Linked DNA regions of Homo sapiens: regions 2 and 3 are each linked to region 1. The links are contacts of gene promoters, found by promoter capture Hi-C in blood cells and fetal thymus (Javierre and others, 2016). All regions are on one chromosome and are shown on one strand. The core of a region is centred on a gene start or on the middle of the fragment in contact, and the rest is flanking DNA. Distances in the headings are between cores, read along the strand shown.

Region 1 (4,301 bases), core at 1,144-3,643:
CCACATCCTGAATGGCTTTTGGATGTCCTATTCAAGATTAATATAGATAAAAAGCTGTTCATATTTAGCTTGGCCTCAGAACCTAACTCCATTTCACAAATAAACACAAAGTATTTTTTGTACAATACTAATATATATTGAATTTTCCAGGATAATAATCACCTTATCAACCAAATGAAGATTATACTTTGTTATATTTGGAAATCTATTACAGAAACTCCTACCACTAAAGCAATACAACCCACCTAGATCAGTCTACATTTGTAATTCTTGAATTCATGGCGCAGGCAACTATTACTCTATGTCTTTTAATGTAGTCATGTCCAAACATTTATATATTGAAATAAATATTATTTTATTATAAATTACTTTTATTTTATTTTTTATATTATAGTTAGGGTGTTAATTGGTATTTTTGTTTAAAATATGAAGTAGGTTGTATGTACCTATGAACTTCATTTCAGGATAGTAAAGGGGTCATTACAAAGTATTTGCTATAAAAAGAGAAAATGGAATGTGATAGAGTGGAGAGCAGTGTTCTGCATGGTGAACTCAGATGCCTGAAAGAATACTGAATTAACTTTTGCTTACCTTTTGCAAAGGAACTTTGAAAGCAATGAAACGAGTCCCAGGCATCCGCTGTCCAACTGGGAGATAGTCTTTCCACCTATTAGATATATTTTTTGTTAGCCAAATTGTATGTTAGCCTTGTTTCCTTGCACAAAATAAGACTTTTTGAAAATGGGAATCATAGCCCGCACAACATGTCCTCTCTCCTCTCTGCTTTGCATTTCGCCACTCCACTTATTAAACCCCACCAAGTAACGACCTATACCGTCCTTCTCTCCTGTTTCCCCATCATAAAAACGAACACAAGCCAACACAACAGTACAACTCAAATAAGGCCTATATAAAACCGGAGATACCCAGAACTTCTGTATCCCTGTTAAACTTGGCCCAGTACCAGATACTAAAGTGCCATTAATACAAACATATTCACTGAAATAATTTAAATTCAATTATTTCACTTCACGCTTTTAGTTTTCATACGACTGATGCCATAAAGTTCAATTAGTAGGAAACTTCAAGTTCATATTTTAAGAGAAAACCTGCTAGAAGAGGGACTGTGAACTTCACTTAATAATGCTAGGAACTGGCCGGGCGCGGTGGCTCACGTCTGTTAATCCCGGCAATTTGGGAGGCTGAGGCAGGTGGATCACCTGAGGTCAGGAGTTCGAGACCAGCCTGACCCACATGGTGAAACCCCATCTCTACTAAAAATACAAAAAAAATTAGCCGGGTGTGGTGGCGGGCGCCTGTAATCCCAGCAACTTGGGCGGCTGAGGGAGGAGAATCGCTTGAATCCGGGAGGCGGAGGTTGCAGTGAGCCGAGATTGGACCATTGCACTCCAGCCTGGCGGAGAAGAGCAAAAATCCATCCCAAAAACAAAAACAAAAAAACGGATTGGAAGAAAACAAACAGGAGATTCACTAATTAGAACCCCACTGCAATAAGTCAGGCAAGACCTGTATTAGGGTACTGACAGAAAGTGACAGTCAAAAGATAGTAGATAAAATGAAGAGGATTTATTGAGGTATGAGATGGTGGAGGATGGTCTCAAGGAGTAAAAACAGTTCAATGCACCTACGTGCAAAGTCTCAAAATTAATCATTTGTACGTATAAAGGAGTTATCTTTCAAATGAGGCCTGTTAGGAAGTAACAAAGTATGCTCTTTGTGATTTCTGGAAACAATACAAACCAACTTTCCATGTGAGATCTCAGGGCGCTACTACTGCTGGGTTCCTAACTCAAACCATTACACTTTCCGTGCCAACGTAACAAGGAATTGAGGAGGTTCCATTTTGGGAATTAAGGAGTGTCCCCAACAGTAACAGTCCCACCTTAAAGCAATCCTTCCGTATTTTACCTAAGAGCAATGGCCAGAACCTCCCTTTTACAAGAATATGGAGAAATCACAGGACATCACAGACATCGCCCCTTTCAGCTACAGCGGGTGGCGCAGAGGGTCAAAGCCTCAAAGCAAGCGGCGGACAAGTCAAGCTTGCGATGGCAACGGCGAGAGGCAGAGACCACAAACGATGAAGCCCAGACCCAGAAGCCACGAGCTGGAAAGGCCACGCCAAGGGACCAAGACATACTACCTTTCGGGGATGTGGTTTCCGCCCTTCTTCTTGGCTGAGGAGCGTCCTGAAAAGTCGCGTCTCCGGCCCCAGCCACTGCGGGGATGATGCCACTGGCTCATGTGGGTCCCAAGAAGCCGCCCACCCAATGCCAAGTCGGCCAAAAGCGCCAGTCCGGCGCCCTCAATGCCAGGATAAGACCCTAAACAGGAAAAGACTCGGCAGCCACCTACGCCGCGCTCCAGCGTCTCGCTATTGCGCATGTGCCACCGCCGGTCGTGATGGCGTAGCCACGCTGGCTTACTGAGACTCCTGATCTGTAAACAGGACTTTGGTGGCTACAGCGCCCTCTTTAGCCAGAGGCCAGTAGCACAGGTCAATAAGGGCGTGTATGCACCCTTCAGAATTCAAACAGTGAGGCACAGGGAAGTCCCTCTGCCCGATCCGCCCCACGCCCCGGTTCCTTGTGTGTTCTTCTAGATATTTACCAGCGCTTACATTCACATTTTGCATATTTTGTATACATATTTACTTTCACATATATGTATATCCTCTATTTTTATACAAAAGGAGTAACTGTACATATTCTACAGTATACCTTAAACACTGATTATCCCAGTCAATTTATGCATACATAGATTCTATTTTTAATGGCTATAGGCAATTTACTTGCTTATGAGTAACATAATTAAAAGTACCATAACGTATTTAGCCAGTTCAATATTAATGGACCTTTAGTTGTTTTCAGGTTCTTTTCAAATCTTGTTACAGACAATGCTGCAATGTGAACATCCTTATACATATATACAACTATATCTAAATTCCTAGAAGTAGAATGTCTGGAATGAAACACATACAAACTTAAAATTTGGAAAGATACTACCTAATTACCCTCCAAAAATAATGTAGAAACATACACTCCCATCAAAGCCAAACTTTTATTGGGTTCCTATCACATACCAGGTATCATGCTAGAGGTGGACAGAATGTATTTAAGTTTTAGCAAATACAAAAAATAACTGAGAGTGGAGCTCAAGTCCAAGGTTTCCACACAGTCTCAAGCATAAAGATCTGTACCCGTTAGAAAAACGTTCAATTCTGCTAAAAGTGGAACTACAAAGGACAGCATACCCTATAGCAGCTTTGAAAATAGAATAGAGTACTAAATTCCAGATTAAACTGTAAGTAATTATGATTGCAGACTTTTTTTTTTTTTTTTTGAGACCCAGTCTCACTCTGCCACCAGGCTGGAGTGCAGTGGTGCCATCTCAGCTCACTGCAACCTCCGCCTCCCGGGTTCAAGCAATTCTCCCTGCCTCAACCTCCTGAGTAGCTGGGACTACAGGTGCATGCCACGACTCCCAGCCAATTTTTTGTATTTTAGTAGAGACAGGGTTTCTCCATGTTGGCCAGGATGGTCTCGATGTCTTGACCTCATGATCAGCACTCCTCGACCTCCGAAAGTGCTGGGATTACAGGCTTGAGCCACCGCACCTGGCCAATGGCAGATTTTTGAAAGTAATTTTTACTTCTTAGTTTCTAATTTATGAAAGTAACTTACATATATTTTTAGTAATCTTTGCAACCATTTCAGAGCTGGGTAAACCAAGGATAAGAAAGGTCAGAGCTATTGAATAAATGAATATTAATAAAGCTAGACTGCTAGCTTTATTAACATTTTTGAGACAGTACTTTTCCAACCAGTTTTAAATACATAAACATTTACAATTCTGAAAATTTCCACATCATTAAAAATGTGTCAATATTCATAAATTGTTCATTGGAAAAAGAAAAAGACAGGATAGCAGAACATAACAAACCTACAATTAGGAACATTTAATTATTTGTTGTTGTTGTTGTTGAGATGGAGTCTCTCTCTGTCACCCAGGCTAGAGTGCAGTGGCGCGATCTCAGCTCACTGCAACCTCTGCCTCCTGGGTTCAAGCAATTCTCCTGCCTCAGCCTCTTGAGTAGCTGCGACTACAGGCGTGTGCCACCATGCCCGGCTAATTTTTGTATTTTTAGTAAAGACAAGGTTTCACCAAGTTGGCCAGGCTGGTCTTGAACTCCTGACCTCAAGTCATCTGCTCTCTTCGGCCTCCCAAAGTGCTGGGATGACAGGCGTGAGCCCCTGCGCCCAGCCCACATTCAAATTTGA
Region 2 (4,301 bases), core at 501-3,000, 700 kb after region 1:
GGGTTTTCCAAGAGGTCTGGACCCAAATTATGAACAATTGCCCTAGGATTACCTTGCTCTCCCCAGCTTGGTTCAAAAGATGGAAAATCCTTGAGGTTAATTTTACTATACAAGAGCTTTAAGGAAAAAGAAAGACATACCCTGCCCCCACCCCCGCAACACACACACACACACACACACACACACACACACACACACACACACACACACACACACAGAGCATATGCCAGAAAGAGGGATTGTATGATCTGCAATGGGCAGAAATTGAGGGAAGAAAGGGGAATTACAACGACCTTTTATTTTTGAGGCAGAGTCTTGCTGTGTCGCCCAGACTGGAGTGCAGTGGCGTGATCTCGGCTCACTGCAACCTCTGCCTCCCGGGTTCAAGTGATTCTCCTGCCTCAGGCTCCCAAGTAGGTGGGACTACAGGAGTGCACCACCACACCCAGCTAATTTTTGTATTTTTAGTAAAGACAAGGTTTTGCCATGTTGGTCAGGCTGGTCTCAAACTCCTGATCTCAGGTGATCGGCCTGCCTCTGCCTGCCAAAGTGCTGGGATTACAGATGTGAGCCACTAAGCCACTACACCCAGCCTACAATGATCTTTTGGTTATCACCTACAAAAGGAAGACAAGAACTGTATGTAAACCAGAAGCAATGACTATTTGAATGTTCTGAGACTCAGGAAGTTTTGGAATGTCCTTACATTGAAAGGCATTATTATATATTATTATTCTTCACAGCCCACTCCAGAGCAATATAACCCATAAAGCAAGAAAAGGCCTATATGCTGGGTTTGTTTCTTTGGTTTGATAGGTTGTTTTTGGAGGGAGAGAACACAGCAATAAAGCTGGTTTCTGCTCTACAGCCCATCTTGAGGGAGAGGAACCCCAGTAAATGTGGTTAATGGCAGCTGCTCTGTAAAGAAATGGTAGATGCCAGGGAGCCTGAAGACAGGATAGACCTGGGGGCGGCCAGACATGGAGTGGAGCCCATATGGCTCCTGGCACATCTGACAACCTGTCTAAATCCAAAATCTTCCTCTCTTCTCCAGTAAATGCAAGCCCCCTTCTCCTCCCTTATTTATGTCAAGGAAATTGCCCTTTTGTCAACGGACTTTTGTTAGGAGCCTCTGTACTCAACACTGAGGGAATACAAGGTGCAGAGTGTGTGACAGTCTCTCCCCCACCCACTGGGATCTTATAGTCCAAACAGGAAGAAAACTCACAATGCCTCTTTTTTTTTTTTTGAGACCAAGTTTCGCTCTTATTGCCCAGGCTGGAGTGCAGTTGCGCAATCTCAGATCACTGCAACCTCTGCCTCCTGGGTTCAACCGATTCTCATGCCTCAGCCTCTGAGCAGCTGGGATTACAGGCACCCGTCACCATGCCTGGCTAATTTTTGTATTTTTAGTAGAGATGGGGTTTTACCATGTTGGCCAGGCTGGTCACAAACTCCTGACCTCAAGTTATCCACCCATCTCGGCCTCCCGAAATGCTGGGATTACACCCTTCTGCTCTTAAAATGTCACCCCCTCACTTATGAGGTAAAGCGCAAATTGTTGGGGCTGGTGTTCATGCCCTCCACAATTTGATGCCAAATTGCTTACTACCCTACCCCACACCCAACCCCAGTGAACATACCCACAAAAGGAACCTCTGCTCTGGTAAGGCCACCTCTCTGCTACCCCCACAAGGATCTACAAACTGCCCACTTCCAGTAACCCCAGCCACTCCTCTGAGGCTTCCCAGCCACCATCTCCAGCCATAGGCCATGTATGGAGCGTTCTTTAACCACATGCCCACTATAGCCTTCCTTCCTCAGGGCTCTATGACCGTCACTGTGTGCAGTACTCATGATGAGCCTGCTCTGGGGCATGTTGAGTTTAAGTAGACAGCAGTAAACTGAGGTAGAAATGCCCAACAGGCAAATGCAGATGTTTAACTAGAACTCTGGGAGCCAGGCTGGGTGTGGAGGCTCATGCCTGTAATCCCAGAACTTTGGGAGGCCAAGGCGGTGGATTGCTTGAGCTCAAGAGTTCAAGAACAGGGCACATGTTCTCAGATCTCCTGAGGGCTATGTCACGAGCCAAACTTCTAATTAAAAAAAAAATATATATATATATAAATAGATATAATATAAATAAAATATATATAGATATAATATAAATAAAATATATATATATACTTTTTTTTTTTTGAGTCTCACTCTGTTGCCCAGGCTGGAATGCAATGGCACGCTCTCGACTCACTGGAACCTCCGCCTCCCGGATTCAAGTGATTCTCCTGCCTCAGCCTCCCGAGTAGCTGGGATTACAGGTGTACACCACAATGTCCAGCTAATTTTTGTATTTTTAGAAGAGACAGGGTTTCACCATGTTGGCCAGGCCGGTCTTGATCTCCTAACCTCAGATGATCCACCTGCCTCGGTTTCCCAAAGTGCTGGGATTACAGGTGTGAGCCACTGCACCTGGACAAAAAATTTTTTTGTTTTCTGTTTTTTTTTTGAGACAGAATTTTTGTTCTTGTTGCCCAGGCTGGAGTGCAATGGCGCTATCTCGGCTCACTGCAACTTCCGCCTCCTAGGTTCAAGCGATTCTCCTGCCTCAGCCTCAGAAGTAGCTAGGATTACAGGCACCTGCCACCATACCGGCTACTTTTTTGTATTTTTAGTAGAGACGGGGTTTCACCACGTTGGGCAGGCTGGTCTTGAACTCCTGACCTCAGGCGATCCACCCACCTTGGCCTCCCAAAAAAGTTTTTTAAAAAGATTTTTAAAAAGGGTTCAAGACCAGCCTGGGCAACATGGCAAAACCTTGTCTCTACAAAAAAAAAAATTTTTTTAAGTAGCTGGGCATTGGCCGGGTGTGGTGGCTCACACCTATAATCCCAGCACTTTGGGAGGCTGAGGTGGGTGGATCACCTGAGGTCAAGGGTTCCAGACCAGCCTGGCCAACATGGTGAAACCCATCTCTACTAAAAATACAAAAACTAGCTGGGCGTGGTGGCAGGCGCCTGTAATCCCAGCCACTCAGGAGGCTGAGGCAGGAGAATCACTTGAACCTGAGAGGTGGAGGTTGCAGTGAGTAGAGATCACGCCACTGCACTCCAGCCTGGGTGACAGAGTGAGACACCTTCTCAAAAAAAAAAAAAAAAAAAGTAGCTGGGCATTGTGGCTTCCACCTGTGGTTCCAGCTACTCAGGAGGCTGAGGTGGGAGGATTGCTTGAGCCCAGGAGGTGGAGGTTGCAGTGAGCCAAGATCACATAACTGCACTCCAGCCTGGGTGACAGTGAGACCCCATCTTAGAAAAAAAAAAAGAACTCTGGGAGCCAGAAAGACTGAACCCGGGAGTTCACAGCAGCAAGACACTGTGGGTAAGCAGGAATACTGAGAGAAAAGCAGAGAGTTAAGGACTGAACTCTACAGCCACACCCCTATTCGGGGCAAAGAGGAGAAAACTGAGCAGGAAAACAAAAAACCAGACATCTTCCACATAGGAATAGATAAATGTGCAAAATGGGGAAGAAAAAGTATAATGGCTTTATTCATAAACATATAAGAAAATGTTAGGAGAAACAGGCAAACATGGATGAAGGTTACTACTGTGAAATAGAAATCAGAGGTGAGTGAGGGCAAACAAAGTGCTGTTTTTTCATTAGTTTTATAAAATAATATTCTATTTCACTTTTTAAACTATAGACATGCACTATTTTATTTTTTGAGACAGGGTCTCTCACTGTATTGCCTAGGCTGGCTGGAATGCAGTGGCTATCACAGCTTACTGCAGCCTTGACCTCCTGGGCTCAAACGATCCTCTTGCCTCAGCCTCCCAAGTAGCTGGGAGTACAGGCGCATGCCACCATGCTCAGCTAAATTTTTTAATTTTTGGAGAGATGGGAGTCTGTGTTGCCTAGGGTGGTCTCGCTATGTTGCCCCTGGTGGTCTCGAACTCCTGGCCTCAAGCAATGCTCTTGCCTTGGCCTCCCAAAGCATTAATAAAAATACAAATTAAACTTTTAAGAGAGGAGAAATGTGCCGATAACTGGTAAGTAAAGAGAAAGATGCAATCATTTATCCTGAATTTTCTCTCTAAAATATACCTAAGAGTAACCAAATCATTAATGAAGGCAAGTTTTTCTTCATAGGAGTAATCCAACTCATAAATGAAGTAGGAATGATGAGAATTGAAATGTTACCACTTTACAACCTCTAATGAAATAATGAATCGAGGCAATGATCCACTGTTGCCATCAAAAACGAGAGTCTGGCATTACTGGGGAGAGGGTAGGGGATACACAGA
Region 3 (4,301 bases), core at 551-3,050, 560 kb after region 1:
TGCTCTAAGTCTTGTACAGGCCTTTAGCAAAAAGCAATAAAATTCTCATCTGACTCTTGGTGGGCTGGGGAATCTGCCTATTCTATTCAGTTGGTTCACTCACATCTCCAAACCAGAACCTACAACCACTCTGTAACTTTATTTATGTAAAATCCACTCTACTTACCCCAGTGCAGTGGCCTGTGGCTCCTGGGCCCTGACTCCAATTCCTTTAGGGTGGACCTTGCAGTTGGAACCATCCACCTCTCGTTTTTTCTATCTCTGCTATTAACATAGCCCCTCCTCTATTGCCTCACCAACTATTTTCAAACCAAAAAGTCTTTGTCTATTCATAGCCACTGTAAAAGTAACATTCATTTTTCTGTTTTTTAATCTAATGTCTGCGTCTTCAGTGGTTCTCACTGGCTAATCTAATCAGTGTGTTCTAGGGAGGTTTATTCCTTGCCTGTTCAGCTTGTCCCAGCACAACAAAGGTAAGTCATTTGCCTGGGGAGAATCAGCTCTTTTAAATCAGACAATCCTCAGGAAAGATGTCAGGACTTTTGCCTCTTTTCTTCATGGGACTGAGATTCAGGAGAACATTCCACATTCCACTGCCACACAGCTCTGCAAACCCCAAATCCTGACTCTCCGAAGAAGGATATGGGCAAGGAAAACAAAGAAGGCATTTGAAAAAACCAAACCTTGCAAGAAAAACTTTGCGTACTTGGTGATTTTTCCAGGTTTATCCTGACTTTTGGCCTCTGTTTTTATGAATTCCATTTTTGTTTAAGTGAAAAAGATACGGTGAGAGAGACATAGTGGAAAATGGGAAGTTTGGAGGAAGATGGGAAGGAAGAAGCCAGTGAGTAGGAAGTGAGAATCGGGAGTGGAGGGAGTGAGGGACGCGGTGCTGAGCGATGGGGAAGAGAAGCATGCCAGGAAGGCGCAGCGTCTCTGGGCACCCAGCATGGGGCCTGGTATATGCACACATTTCCCCTCATTGAACTCTCAACAGTCCAGTGGGGAGAGCATTCTCGTCCCCAACCTTACAGAGCTGGAACAGAAGCTCAGAGACTTACAGACAGGAAGAAAAGTAGGAGCTGGAAGCCCCATTAAAAAAGCAACTCTACCCCTCTTCTTCCAGTCTCTTCTGTGGCTTCTCTAAGGGTCTTCAGCCTCCTTATTTCAGGGTTGACCTTCTCTTTCAGATAGGAAATTTATCATCTGGTTGGATATCCTCACTTTCTTCCTAGATCACGTGGAGTTTTCCCTTAGTGGAAAAGCCTCATTCCTGGATCTAGAGCCTGCTGGTGGCAGACATGTAAAAAACATGTTTCGGAGGCCATGCCCAAGCCAACACATTAACCCAACATTATAGTTTCTGTTAATAATCCATGGAATCAAAGACAGGCAAGACTAGGGAGATCAACACATGCTGGGTCACCAGAGGCTTTCCTGGTTTTAGCACAGAAGATCTGTGACCCAGGAAACCCCTTAGTCCCAGGAAGATCAGCACAGCCTAGGCCAGAAACAGTTTCGGGCCTTAGGGAATTTCCAGCTGGTTGGGGATTCAACAAATTCAGAAGAGTGTGAGGCTCCAAAAAGAAGCACAAAGGGAGGGAAGGGTTCAGTGAAAGAAAAATCACCCTTGTTTGGAGGATTACCTTGTTCCACAAATGTTCATGGCTTACCTACCAGCCCCATGTGTTAAAGAAAAGCTTTGTGGAGAAAATGGCCTTGGAGATGCAGTGAAGGGATAGGATAGGGGTAGGATTTAGAACAGTAGAACTACCAAGGGGTATCTGAGGCAGAGGGAAGAAGCCACAAAAAATATAGACATAAGAGGTGGGAGAACATAGCATAAATATCCTGAGAACTGGAGAGCAGTTTCCCTGGCACAGGGCAGGTTTGGGGAAATAAAGCTTTGGGCATGCGACGATAGGCTGGGTAGTCTATGGAGAGGTGTAAACATCAGCAAACATGTCTGAAGTGAAAGGAATGTGGAAGGGGACTTGGTACAAGAATGGAATAATGGACTTCACAGTGGATTGTAGCACAGGTGGAAAGACCAGTTGAGACGTTACTGCCAAGCATTCAAGTGAAACCCTTTGGTTTCTACCTACCCAGGTTTTGTTCAAATAATTTGGACATTTATTTCAGACACTTCAGGTTTGGGGTTTTTTTGTCTCTCACTTCACACAGGAATTTGAGGGTGAGCTTCATCTGGTTTGGTGAGGGTATTGGAAGGTATGGGGCAGGGGCTGTCCCTCCAGGATGCACAAAGGGAACAGGTTTGCAGGCTCAGGAATCCTCCTAATGGAGGAAGGAGGAAGGAGGGAGGAGGACCTGCCCTGGCAGCACCGTGCTTTCTTCCTCGTGTCTAGTGTCCACTGGGATTTGGCTGCTGCACTGCTTGTCTCCCTGTCCAGACCTAATGCCTCGTTAGCTGTTAACCAAAGCATGTTCCTTACTTATTTGAGAGGCTTTCTACCTTGCCAGAGAAAGACAGCCATTTGAATGTTCTCTGTGAGAAAAGGGAAAGGCAGTGTGGCGGTGTGAGACCACAGCCTGAAGTCCCCGACTGCCACCACCTGCCACAATATCCTGCTGCCACTCCCCAGCTCTGCTGTCTCTAAGCCTCAGTTTCCCACATGAACCAGGCGACTAAAGTGGGGATGGCAGATTTTCTCTCAGAAGGGAAAAGTGCTAGGCGTCAGGTCCAAAGAAGTATACTGTAAACCCCTCCTCGTATTCCAGCACTGCTTTGGAATGCTTTTTTTTTTTTTTTTTTTTTGCTTTGGATATTTTTCCTTTTTACTTTTTTTTTTTCAAGTTCTCTCATGAGGTTGCATACTTTACTTTTTTTCATTTAAAAAATGTAGTTCCAGTTGGACTTAGGGAGGAAAGAGAAGTAAATGTTAACAGTTCACTTTACAATCTTGAACGAATTTTTTACTTAAGGTTGATTTAACTTGGTAAGTGTATTTTTTGTGAATTTCCTATTCATATCTATGTTTCTATTGATGTGTTTCTTTTTTCTATTTATTTATTTATTTATTTATTTTTGAGATGGAGTCTCACTCTATCACCCAGGCTGGAGTGCACTGGCCACCATCTCAGCTCACTGTAACCTCTGCCTCTCAGGTTCAAGTGATTCTCATGCCTCAGCCTCCCAGGTAGCTGGGATTACAGGCATGCGCCACCATGTCAGGCTAATTTTTGTATTTTTAATAGAGATGGGGTTTCGCCATGTTGGCCAGGCTGGTCTCAAACTTCTGGCCTCAAGTGATCCACCTGCCTCAGCCTCCCAAAGTGCTGGAATTACAGGCATGAGCCACCACTCCCAGCTTCTTTTTCCTATTTATTTGTAAAAGTTACTTATTTATGTTATAAATATTTTTCTTTTTCTTTGTTTTTAGAGAAAGGGTCTTGCTCTGTCACCCAGGCTGGAACGCAGTGGCGCGATCACAGCTCACTAAAACCTCAAACTCCTAGGCTCAAGAAATCCTCCCGCCTCGGCCTCCCAATTATAGATATTTTTCTGTTTGTCATTTGTCATTCAATTTTGTTTGCAGTCTTTTTCTTTTTCTTACAGGAAGGTTTAATACGATGTGTGTGTGTGTGTATTTTAATAAAGTCAAATTTATCCATATTATTCTTTAAGGTTTCTAGTTTTGTTGTCAATCTTAGAAAAGTTTTAGCCATCCCCAACTTTATATACAAAATAAATTTTCTTTATATAGAAAATCTGTATGTTCTAAATTTTCTTCTAGTTCTTTTCCGGTATTGCTTTGTATATTTAAATATTCAATCCATCTGGACTTTGGTATATGGTGTAATATGAGGATTTAACTTGTTTTTCCCAAGTGTTAAATCACCATTTGTAAAATTATGTACCCTGTACCCACCATCCTACACCCTCCTTCCCAAAGGGGCAGACTGAAATCCAGCCGAGGGGACCCATCCTGCTTGATCACATACTGATGTTTCTATGTGCTTGAGTCTGTTCTCAGCCAACCAACCTGATAGTAGGCCCCGTGCCCAGTTTCCCTTTCTTACCACTCACTCATCCCTCAAACCACTGTGTTCTGATTTCTGCTCCTTACTGGTCACAGACATTTCTGTGGCAAAGCTCATCATCAAACTTCTAATTGCCAAGTGGACAATTAGACAGTGGACACTTTTCAGATCTTTGCTTGATAGACCTCTCTATTACATCTGGTGTTATTGACAATTCTTTCCTCTTTTTTTTTTCCTGTTTGTTTTGCTTGGTATATTTTACAACTTGTGGGCCATTCAGTATGTGCATATTTATCTTT

The links. Contacts are between HindIII fragments. The CHiCAGO score rates a contact against its expected background, and 5 or more counts as called.
Region 2: a contact is called between a fragment that was not itself captured here and the fragment with the promoter of DUSP11 in region 1, in 1 of 17 cell types (non-activated CD4 T cells). The highest score is 5.5, in non-activated CD4 T cells.
Region 3: a contact is called between a fragment that was not itself captured here and the fragment with the promoter of DUSP11 in region 1, in 4 of 17 cell types (naive CD8 T cells, non-activated CD4 T cells, M0 macrophages and 1 more). The highest score is 6.4, in naive CD8 T cells.

The regions. Positions count from the first base shown.
Region 1 is chr2:73,777,710-73,782,010 of GRCh38, forward strand. DUSP11 (dual specificity phosphatase 11) reads right to left here and starts at 2,394. Exons shown (of 9, transcript NM_003584.3): 1 at 2,165-2,394; 2 at 592-667. The coding sequence starts at 2,265. RefSeq lists enhancers at 1,886-2,035, 2,166-2,215, 2,296-2,365. The HindIII fragment of the contact is 6,659 bases long and covers 2,062-4,301 here.
Region 2 is chr2:74,475,887-74,480,187 of GRCh38, forward strand. The region is part of intron 5 of CCDC142 (coiled-coil domain containing 142); the gene reads right to left. Among named protein-coding and RNA genes, the nearest start is that of CCDC142, 5.0 kb to the right of the region's middle. The HindIII fragment of the contact is 6,387 bases long and covers 1-4,301 here.
Region 3 is chr2:74,343,190-74,347,490 of GRCh38, forward strand. It overlaps SLC4A5 (solute carrier family 4 member 5), which reads right to left and starts at 227. Exons shown (of 31, transcript NM_133478.3): 1 at 167-227. The HindIII fragment of the contact is 204 bases long and covers 1,699-1,902 here.